Regions from separate parts of the Homo sapiens genome. Here all the other regions are linked to region 1. Evidence: promoter capture Hi-C in 16 types of primary human blood cells and fetal thymus (Javierre and others, 2016). All regions are on one chromosome and are shown on one strand. The core of a region is centred on a gene start or on the middle of the fragment in contact, and the rest is flanking DNA. Distances in the headings are between cores, read along the strand shown.

Evidence for each region. Contacts are between HindIII fragments. The CHiCAGO score rates a contact against its expected background, and 5 or more counts as called.
Region 2: a contact is called between a fragment that was not itself captured here and the fragment with the promoter of MIR497HG in region 1, in 2 of 17 cell types (monocytes and naive CD8 T cells). The highest score is 5.9, in monocytes.
Region 3: a contact is called between a fragment that was not itself captured here and the fragment with the promoter of MIR497HG in region 1, in 1 of 17 cell types (monocytes). The highest score is 5.3, in monocytes.

Annotation. Positions count from the first base shown.
Region 1 is chr17:7,017,797-7,021,463 of GRCh38, forward strand. It overlaps MIR497HG (mir-497-195 cluster host gene), which reads right to left and starts at 1,858. Exons shown (of 3, transcript NR_038310.1): 1 at 1,582-1,858. It overlaps MIR497 (microRNA 497), which reads right to left and starts at 226; the gene lies at 115-226. RefSeq lists an enhancer at 763-932. The HindIII fragment of the contact is 3,977 bases long and covers 1-3,027 here.
Region 2 is chr17:7,204,408-7,207,985 of GRCh38, forward strand. All of the region lies in intron 2 of DLG4 (discs large MAGUK scaffold protein 4), which reads right to left. Among named protein-coding and RNA genes, the nearest start is that of DLG4, 11 kb to the right of the region's middle. RefSeq lists an enhancer at 763-812. The HindIII fragment of the contact is 8,126 bases long and covers 1-3,578 here.
Region 3 is chr17:7,227,169-7,230,669 of GRCh38, forward strand. DVL2 (dishevelled segment polarity protein 2) reads right to left here. Exons shown (of 15, transcript NM_004422.3): 3 at 3,117-3,262; 4 at 2,878-2,987; 5 at 2,640-2,775; 6 at 2,420-2,510; 7 at 2,210-2,279; 8 at 1,967-2,106; 9 at 1,801-1,877; 10 at 809-876; 11 at 487-615; 12 at 236-367; 13 at 1-101. Among named protein-coding and RNA genes, the nearest start is that of MIR324, 5.5 kb to the left of the region's middle. RefSeq lists an enhancer at 2,306-3,501. The HindIII fragment of the contact is 1,610 bases long and covers 1,195-2,804 here.

The DNA of each region.
Region 1 (3,667 bases), core at 608-3,107:
TTTAGAGGGGTGCTTACATACCCCACCCTCTCCTTGCCCACCTGGCAAGAAGTTTGTCACAAGGCCCCAGATGTTTTTTGTGTCACTTCTCCAGGATGGCCTCCCAGGGCCAAGCCTCGGCGGTGCCTCCCCCACCCTCGCTCTAACACCACAGTGTGGTTTGGACGTGGCCACAGTGCCGTACAAACCACAGTGTGCTGCTGGGGCGGGAGCAGGACCGGGGTGGGTTGAAAGGAAGAGAGCACATAGCAGTGCTGGGAAGACCCCAGCACCACCTCCAGGAGCGGGGGGATAGAGAAGCCTTAAAAGGCAAACATGGCCCCCAAAAACGTTTGGGAGGAACCAGGGACGGGCTGAGCAGGCAACTGGAAGGCGACGGACCATGGGGATGAGCTCACAGTGTAGTAAGATTGGACCATCTTCCCTCTGTAGGAACTCAGCTCAGGGGATCCCTAGGGTGGGGTCAGAGGCAGAAGAAATAGGGAATGACTGGAGGGGCCAACACACTGCCTCCTGTCTCAGCAAGGGCAGGGACCCAAGGCTTCCTGTGTCCGTCCTTCCTCTCCCTGGGTCAGAACCCAAGAGAAAAGCAAGGAGAGACAGAGGGCCAAGGCCAGCAGGGTTGGGAGTTGGCAGTCCAGAGGTGGTGGGGCCGGAACATGGTTGGGAGAGGGGGGCCGGAAGTCGCCCTGGGCCCTGGGCCTGCCACAAGATGGAGGCCAAAGGCAGGAAATGGAGACCAGGGGGAAGGGGAGCAGCAGAGCCCAGGAAGAGGGCCATCTGGACCTGGGGGGCCAGGTATTCAACCCCCAGTGCTGTTCCCACTCCCCAGGGCCCCTGAGGACCCGAGCCGGCCCCCACAGCAACCTCCATCAGCCCATCCACCAGGCCAGGGCAGGCGGGCCCACCCCAGAGAGCCACGTTTAAGCTGAGACAAACATGCCTCTCCCCACCCCCAACTCCAGGCCTTCCCTCAGCCCTTTTCTCCTGTCCAGGACTTGATTTTTTAAAAACACCCCTCAGAAAGCAAAATCCAAGGGCCAAAACTCCTTTTGCAAATCAAAATATGACCCCCTAAAATCCAGAAGTTATCTTCCTATATCCCATCGCATCTTTTACCACCCCCTCTTCCGACACACCCCCCAAAACTCTTAGCAATCTGAAAGATCCAAGGTGGTGTATGTAAGCAGTCTTTTTAGGCCCCCGAAGATGCCAGACCCCTCCCGGACACCCCTATCTGCCCTCCATCAAATCTTGCCAAGGCCTCCTGCTCCTCCACCACCCTCCATAGCCCCCAAACTAACAGTTGCCCCCAGCTCCTACCTCGGCAGAGCCTTTGTGGGGGGTGAAAGAGAAATTAAACACTATCCTAACGGCTGGGGATGTTGGGGGGCTCTCTGGTCTCAGCCTTTGGTTTCCGTCTGGGGGGCTGCAGTTTAGGGGTATAAGAGAAAGCCTCTCCAATCATCCCCCCAATTCCAAGACTGACAAAGCCAACCCCACCCCAGCACGCACCTCCAAACCTCCCCCCCAACCGCCACGTCTCTCCTGAAAACAGAGGACACTTCCCTCCCCACTTACCTCAGCTACTCTCCCCTGAGATCCTGGTCCCCTATTTTGAAAAGAGCAAAATTTAGGGTGCATCCCTCACATTTGGGGTGCAGGAGAAAGGAGCCGCCCCAGTCGCATCGCTGGCCTCCTTCCTCTCGGCTGGCTCAGGGACTGGGGAGTGCCCTGGGGAGGGGGCACCCCCACAAGAGATCTCAGGAGGGGTTCCTCCACTCCCAGTCAGAATTGGGGACACCCCCCCAAAACCCGTCCCAGCCCATCCGTCTCCAACTCGGCGGGAGAGGCAGCTGCAATGCCCCAGTCAGATTCACCCAACACTACATTCCTCACCCCATCTAGAGGGGTCCCGGGGTCCCCAAAAAATCCCAAAAAAATCTAGGATGTTGGGAGGACGGTCCTGGACTAGCTCCCCAAATTTGGGGTCCTCAGATACCCCCGTTTTTTCAGGAAAATTCCGTCTTTTGCCTGCCTCCCGCCAGCCCTGCTCTGTCCCGATGCCAATTTTGGAAGTCACTCCCTCCTTCCTCCTCCCCGTCTCTCCAGGCCCCCCCCACCGCTCGGGGGCTAGGGTCCAGGACACCTGGCTTCCAGACCGGGGGGAATCACTCCTCAAAGGGCTAGGGGCCAGGAGGTCAAGCTCATTGCCCCTGTCTTAAGGAAGCAGGAAAGCCCGTTCCTCCCTTCCCCTCCCCCCTGGCTGGTCACCGTGGTGGTTTAGGAAAGCCTGGAGGATTGGAATCTGCCATTGCTGTTGCACAGGCAGTTTTTTTTCTTGGGTTGGGGGGGTGGGCGGTGGGAGGGAGAGAGGGGAGGAGGGCCGAAGAGAGAAGGGACCCAGGCGCGAAGAGCTGGCCTGGCTTACCCTGTAGCCCCGGCTGCCGTGGGGAACCCCTCCCCGCCATCTCACCCACACTCCCAGTCCTCTGTCTGCTTTCTGTTTGGGGCTCATCCTAGAAAATCAGGGTGCAAGAATCACCTCCTTGTACCCCACCAGCACCCCTCCTTGCCACAGTTCCAACAGCACTGCCCTGGTCAGGGGTGCCCACTTGGCCAAGGGACACCCCATTTTTCTCCAACTTCCCCCAAACTAAGGGGTGCTCCCTTAAGAAATTGGGATTCAGAGTCTGAAACCGCCTTTTCTCCCTCTCTTCTCCCTCAAGCCACATAATAATAAAAGGAGATACCACACCCTTTCCAAGTTTCTCCCTTCAAATCCTGGGCTTATTTGGGGGTTCACTAAAGAAACTTCTAGAATCTGGGGTGAGAGGGCACTATAAGCAAAAGACATCCCAAACCAGGGTCCAAATTAAGTGAACTCCCAAATCAGTCTCACCTTATGATTATCCCTTAGCTTCACCAAAAGCAGCCAGAGTGACAAAACACCCCCAAAATAAGAACACCCCAGAACTTTAGTCTCCTGTCCTCGCGGCCCTCACCTTGTTTCTCCCCTGGGGAAAAAGCTTCTTGGGTATCCATGGATACACAGGAATACCCCACGTCTTTCCACTTTGTGGAACGTGAGTGTCCACAAGACTCAAATATAAAAGTTTGCTCCCCCCTCCCAGGACCCCCAATCACAGAAAGCTTCGAACTTGCTCCCAGCTTCCTATAATGTTCCACCTCAAACTAATTTTTAAAACTCCAAATTGAACTTATTCCCCAAATCTAATCTGAGCCTTGAAACTTAGATGGCACCCCAAAATAGACTGCACCCCCAAATCAGCATGAGTACTTTGGTTCTGCTGATAGTCCAAGATGACACAGGTGAGCACAATCTCCAAATTGTGGGTGTCAGAACCCCCAGAACTAATGTAACTTCCAAGTCAGCCCCATACCTGAAACTTACCATATAGGCCTCAAAGGCTGAATGCAGCCACCGGTGCTCACAATCAAATCAACACCCCATAATAAACAGACACCCCACAACTGATCAAATAATACTCCATCCTGATGCCAAAGGGAGAGCCCCTAGTCTAATTCTCATCTCCAAGCTGGGCAGAGACCTAAATAACCCTCACATGTCAAAGCCACCTCATCGTCCTGAATTTCCCAGTTCCCGGTTTCTCAGCTGTTCTTTCATGCATTCAAATAAAGACAC
Region 2 (3,578 bases), core at 430-2,929, 190 kb after region 1:
ATCACACACACGCACACGCGTGCACATGCGCACGCGCACACACACGCACAGATGCACACGCGCAAGGATCTAACTCTGCCCAGCCCGGGGCCCCCTGCATGTGGAAGGAGGTGTAGGAGAAGCGGGAAGGGAGACAGCCAGACGGAGAGGGGAGCAGCAGATGGCAAAGAGTGGGGAGAGGGGGGTAGGCTTGGGGGAAGGGAGCTTCTCACCGGATGTAACACCACAGGGTGTTACATGCCTTATGTGCTACACATGGACACCCCAGGGATCATGTCCACCGGGTCCTGGTCCCCATTTCCTGCCCCATCCCCCCAACCCCCCATATCTACCCAGATATTTTCATAACCCTCCCCTAGACTTGCCCCTCACTTTCACAGACATTTGCCCTAAACCCTGCACCCCGGGAATCCGGGGTTCCCCAGCTGCAGGCCCCTCCCTCGGTCTCACCAACCAGCCGTCCAATCCACCCCTTCCTCTAAGGACCGTGTTGCCTAGCAACGGTATCTAGGACCAGTCAAGACCCGGGGAGACCCACCTCCAGGAGGCCCTGTCGTCAGGACAACAGGGGGGTGGGGCGTGGCCTGGGGCCGACCAAACTCCTGAGCGCAGAAGGGATCCGCTAGCCCCGCCTCTCCTGCCCTGGGCCCCGCCCCACGTTAGCCAGGCCGAGAGGAGGCCGGGCTGAAGAGGTTTGTGGGCGCAGCGCATCCTGAATAACCTGCCTTCCTCGCTCCCCTACGCCCCTCACCCTACGCAGTGCAAAGGACGTCAGGAACTGGGAGTGGTGAAAGACATCCGGGTCCTATCCCGCTCATCTACTCCCTCCCCCCACTTCATTCGGGAAAGGGTTAAAGTGGGGCGTGCCCAGGTCCCTGACGTCAATCGCCTGGTCTCTAGACTCCCAGGCGGGGCCCGCTTTAGCCCGGTCCTAGGGGCTTCCCCAATTGCCAGGGCAACCGAAGCCACGTCTCTATGGCAATGGGGGGAGGCCGCCAAGAGCCTCCTTCCGGGGTCCCCAACCTACTTCCTCCTTAAAGAAACATGTATTTGCAGTCGCCCAAGCGCAAGGATTCCCCAGTCTCCTTCCCGCTCTCCCCGTCCAAAGGGGTCCCTCCCCTCTCCTACTGCTATTTCTCAAGCCTACAAACTACCGACCATTTTCAAGCTGTATCACAGATTTCACACCCATAAATCTATTAACACCACCCTCCAACCCTTCACATATCAGCAAATGCTGTTGTCCAACCAACAGTCACTGACTGCCAAAATCTCATCCACGTGTTCATCCCCCATCCCACAGCCCGTCCCCCATCCCACAGCCCGTCCCCCATCCCGCAGCCCGTCCCCCATCCCGCAGCCCGTCCCCCATCCCGCAGCCCGTCCCCCATCCCGCAGCCCGTCCTCCATCCCATAGCCCGTCCTCCATCCCATAGCCCATCCTCAATCCCCATCCCCATCCCTATCCTGGAACCTCCTTCCCAGCACACCCACCTTCATCCACTACGACATTCATTTGCTTCCCATCCCTATCTCTGCCCGCATCCCACATGCTCCATCTCCATCCCTGTCTCGCCCTTCAACATCCATCTTCCAACCCCAGCCTCCATTCTCCATCCGCTTCCCTGGCCCTGTCGCACCCTCCAGCCCCATCCCTTACCAATGTGGCCTCATCCTCCATCCCAATTTCTTTTTTTCCAGAGACAAGGTCTCGCTGTGTCACCCAGGCTGGAGTGCAGTGGTGTGATCATAGCTCACTGCGGCCTTGAACTCCTGGGCTCAAGCAGTCCTCCCACCTCAGCCTCCTGAGTAGCTACAGGCACATGCCACCCCACCCAGCTACTCCATCTCAATTTCTGATTCCCCAGAGAGTTTATCACCATTCTCCCTTACCCTACCTTCATACCCTCAAGATTATTCTCAAGTAACAATCTTACACTTCTCAATCAACTCCCCTCTCTTCTGAAAATTGGGGCTTCTCCTGTTCCCCAGGTGAGGCCTTGTCCTGAGACCTCCACCCCATGCTTATGGCCTCCAACACTCTCTCCCTCCACCCCCTTCTGCTCCTGAGCTCTGATCAGCAGCAGCTCTGTACTAACTACCACCCCTCAGGCTCCCTACCTCCTCTTCCCCCTGCTCAGGGATTTAATGGCCCTGCCTTGCACAAAGCATCTCTAGTCTTCTTTCCCTCACTCCTAGCATCCACAGAATTCGCACAAACACTCTGTACCATCCCTGTCTCCAGGGCCTTCCTTTCCTTGCTCTGTCAGCCTCATTCACTGCCCTGATCTCACAGTCTTATCCCTATCTGGCCCCTGACCCAGGACCTCTTACCCTTCCTATCCCCCAACTCCTCTCTTGCCAGTTCTAACTCCAGAACCTGCTTGCCCGCTCCCTAGGCTCAGAGACCTCCTCCCCATCTTCTTGGTGAAATGTCAGCAACCTCCCCCTTCCCAGAGCATCCCACAACATCCTAGAATCCCCACCCTGACCCCACAGTGTCCCCTCAATCTCACAGCTTGCCTGGTGCTCTCCAGTCCTCCCCATCCTGTGTCCCCAGAAGAGGAGATGGAGGAAGGGGAAGATGGAAAGTGGACTGGAGAATGGAAGGTCCCAGAAACCAGGCCTCCCGGGACTGGAGAGAGGAGGACGCTGTGAGCAGAGAGGAGAAAGGGAAACAGGTGGTGGGGGATGATGGAGGGGGCAGAGGGGGATAGAAAGAAGATATGGCAGAGGTGAGAACCCAAGAGGATGAGAGAGGGGAGGAGGAAAAGAGGGAAGGTGAAGATGAATAGGCAAGAGGGAACATGGGAAAGGGGAGCTGGCTGATGGAGGGAGAGGACTGATGAGGGAAAGGACTGATCAGGCCCCAGCGGCCTGGGCTGGGGATCAGGGAGAGGGAGAGGAGAATGCGTGGGAGGAAGAGAGAGACAGCATCAAGAGCCAGCCAGCCAGCCAGCCAGCAGGGAGGAAAGGCTGCAGAGGGGGAAGAGAACTCAGGAGTGGAGCAAAGCTGGGGCAGGGGACGAGGCAGCAAGGCCCCACCATGTGAAGTCTCAGGCCAGACAGATGGAAAGAGCTGGAGACTTGGGGACAGGGCGAGCCAGGCCCAGAGGCGGAGGTAGGGGGAGGAGGCGGGGAAGGGACAAGAGCAAATGAGGGCAGCAGGCGCTTGGAACAGAGCTCTGGACACAGAAAATGGAAATGGAGGTTGGGGGTGTGAAGGAATGAAGAGGTCCCAGGCGTGGGGGCCTCTTGGGGGATGCACACACCTCAACACACACGCATACAGCACACGCACAGGCACACAAACGGCGCACGCACGCACACACACACACAGCACACACACAGGCACGCATGCATGCACACACGCACAGGCACACACACAGCACACGCGCACAGGCACGCGCGCACACACACATTCTTGCTTTAGGCTTTACATCCACTCCCATTGGCCTGGCCTGTTTCTCCTCTGTGGGACCAAGGTGTTTCCAGCCCCACAAACGCCCCCTCCCCCAGACCCCAGGAGCCCAAGCCCCAAACCCCCGCCCCCAGTCCCAGCATCCCCCTCCCCACGG
Region 3 (3,501 bases), core at 750-3,249, 210 kb after region 1:
GATCAGGCCTGCTTTGAGCAGCCCGCTGGCATACTTGCGGGCCTCCCGCCGCTCAGGAAAGCCCTCCACGTGATGGTAGAGCCAGTCAACCACATCCGAGCCTGGGAGCACCCACAGTGGAAAAAGGCCTCAGGTTCTTCTTCCAACTCCTGCTCTCGCCTCTGCCTGTGCCATTCCTGGCTTTGGTCACCACCTCCTCCCCTTCTCCAGCCACCTGCCCAGGACCCAGCCATACCCAGAAAGGCATTAGGGATGGTGATCTTGAGCCACATGCGGTCCCGGACTTCCAGTCCAGACTCTGGAGCTGCCATGGCCTTGGTCACCGATGCCATGTCCGTATGGACGGAGAGACCCCGGCCTTCACAGCCTGGCAGAGGAGACAACGGGTAACCAGAGTCAGGGATCGCTCCCACAAGGGCAATGGATCAGACCACTGCGGGACAGCCTTCTGCTGGGAGGGTGGGATGAGGTGGGCTGGCGGCTCACCATCAGGCAAAGACGATCCAGATGTAATGGTGCTCATGGAGGAGGAACCTGGATAGGCTGGGAAGGTGCCAGTCAGAGCCGCGGAATGGGACACCCAGGCAGCAGGGTCAATTGGCTGGATGGGCTCATCTGGGACAAAGATGGCACCAAAATGACCCATTCTCAGTCCCCAAAAGCCAGCCCAGTCCCTCCCTGACTCAGCCTCCTGTTCCACCTCTGCCTGGACCCTCCTCCCACCCATTCCCCATGACCACAGGCCCGGCCCCAGCCTCCTGGGCAGCCCCCACCCCCAACTTCAGGCCCCTCCCTGAGTGTCACTCACTTCGGGGGAGAGTGAAATAGGCCTGAGGAGAGGGATCCCAGCACTTGGCCACAGTCAGCACAATGGGGCTATGGGGAAGAGAAGTCCAGTCAAGGGCGCAGGGGAAGAGGAGGCCTCAGGAGGGCGGGGGTCTGAAGCAAGGATGGATTAAGAGACACAAAGAGGGGGAGAAGCAAGCACATCGCGGCTGGGCTAGAGAAGGTGAGGGTGGAAGGCACCACAATGTGGATGACTCATCAACATGGAAAACTCTTAAAAACATACTGCCAAGTGAGACAAGAGAGTACACGCTGTACAGTTCCATTCACAGAAAGTCCAAAAACAGGTAAAACGAAACTGCAGTGTTCAAGGATACGTGCAAGGGTGGTAACTATCCAGTGAGGCAAAGCTTTTCTTTGTTATGGTGATGGCCAAAGAAGTCAGGAGAGTGACTACCCCTGGGGCAGTGAGGCATTTGGGAGCAGGAAGGGACATCTGAGGAGGAAGTTCTAGGGTATCAGCAATCTCCTATTTGATGATCTAGATGGCAGTGACATGGATATTTACTCTAGTATTATTTGCTATGTCATGCATTTGTTTCATGTACTTTGAACGTTATGTCTTAGCACTTTTTTTTTTTTTTGAGACGGAGTCTTGCTCTGTCGCCCAGGCTGGAGTGCAGTGGCGTGATCTCGTTTCACTGCAACCTCCACCCCCCAGGGTTCAAGTGATTCTCCTGTCTCAGCCACCTCACTAGCTGGGACTACAGGCATGTGCCACCATGCCCACTTAATTTTTCTATTTTTAGTAGAGACACGGTTTCACCACATTGGTCAGGCTGGTCTCGAACTCCTCACCTCAGGTGATCCACCCATCTGGGCCTCCCAAAGTGCTGGGTTTACAGGCTCGAGCCACCACGCCCGGCTGTCTTAGTACTTATTAAAATTCCAAAACAAAACATGAAAGAGAAAAAAAAAGAGGACTGAGGACCGGCAACCTGCTTGGCAACTCACCCAGGCTTGTGCACAATGTCCCTCAGCACCCGCACAGCGTCATCGTTGCTCATGTTCTCAAAGTTCATGTCATTCACCTGGAAGCGACGGCAAGTGGGTCAGAGACACGGTGGGAGAGGCTGAGGGCCCCCGTGCAGGGCAGCTCAGTGGCCCTACCCCAGCACACCTGCAAAAGCATGTCCCCTGGCTCAATGCGCCCGTCGGCCGCCACAGCCCCACCCTTCATGATGGAGCCAATGTAGATGCCTCCGTCTCCCCGCTCATTGCTCTGGCCAACAATGGAGATACCCAGGAAGTTGTACTTCTCTGTGGAGAGAGGCCATGTGAAAAGAGGAGCCCCTGCCACAGGACGCCCGGAACCCTAGAGACCAGGCCCTCCCCACGCCCTAGCCACAGGCTCTCCCCATACCCATGTTTAGCGTGACTGTGATGATATTGAGAGACATTGTGGAATCTGTGACGCTGCTGAAGGATGACGTCTGTGGTGGGAAAAGGAGCCAGAGTGCCCTTCAATAACCCAGGGTCAACCCTGGGGTGCTGCCGGTGTCCTGGCACCGCCCAAACCAAAGCCCATGCCCCACCTTCTCCCAGCACCAGCCTTCCTGTAGGAACCCCTCACCCTCTCCAGGCGGGGTGGCCTCTGCTTCCTTCGCCGCCGGTGGCGCTTAAGGAGGCGGGAGGCACTGCTCTGCTCCGTGGAGCTGCTGAACCTACCAGGAGGTTGGGAAGGAGAGCAAACGTAGGCCAAAGTGGTCATGGGGCCAAGAGAAAGAACAAGAGGATTGACTGGAAGACGAGACGGGGCTGGGTGCGCTGGGGAGAGCTGTGCGGAGCCACACCTGCTCATGGTGTCCTCCTCGTCCGAGTCCCCCAGGCTGGTACTCTCCAGCTCGCTGGTCATGAGGGTAGAGGAGCTCTCGTATCCGGCCAGGTGGCGCTCCAGCCTTGAGGGGCCACCAGTCCTGTGGCCCCCAGCTACATATGGACAGGAAGCTCAAGAACCAAGCTTCCCCCTGCTCACCCCACCAAGGCTGGGGTCTGGCCCAGCCCTTCCCGGCCCCCAGGCCTGCCCCTCACCGCCATGCTCACTGCTGTCTCTCCTGCGAGGCCGCTCCCGCCTCAGTGACACTACTGACTCGGTTTCTGTCTCAGGCTCCAGATTCTCATGGCTGCTGGACACATTAGGGCTGGACAGGCAGAGATGGTTTCCAACCCACATCAGGAGAACAGGGCTCCGGATCCTAGGCGTCCCCTACCAAAGGCCTGGGTTCCCTCCTCACCTCCCTCCCCTGCAGTCAAGAATCTGAAGGACTCACTGGAAGGATGGAGGCCTTGAGTCCCCAATGCCGCTGGTCCTCTCGGGTGGCAAAGGAGGTAAAGGTGGGGCTGGAGGCGCCAGTTCTGCCCGAGGCTCATGGACTGGAGGGGCCATCTCGGGTTGGGGATTATCTGAGGACACCAGCTAGAAGGGTGCAAATGATAAACAGTGGCTCACTTGGGAGTCAGGGTGTGACAGGTGGCAGTAAGTGAAAGAATGAGAAAGGGTCTCAGAGAGCTGGAGAAGAGCAAAAAAACCTAGCAAGTATTAGAGACTCCAGAAGGAGAAGGCTGAGGGCCTCTCGCCGGCTCTCCAAACAGACAGGAGGTAAAGAGCCAGGGCTGCTAACGCGCGGCCTGGGGAGGATACAGAAACAGACTGAG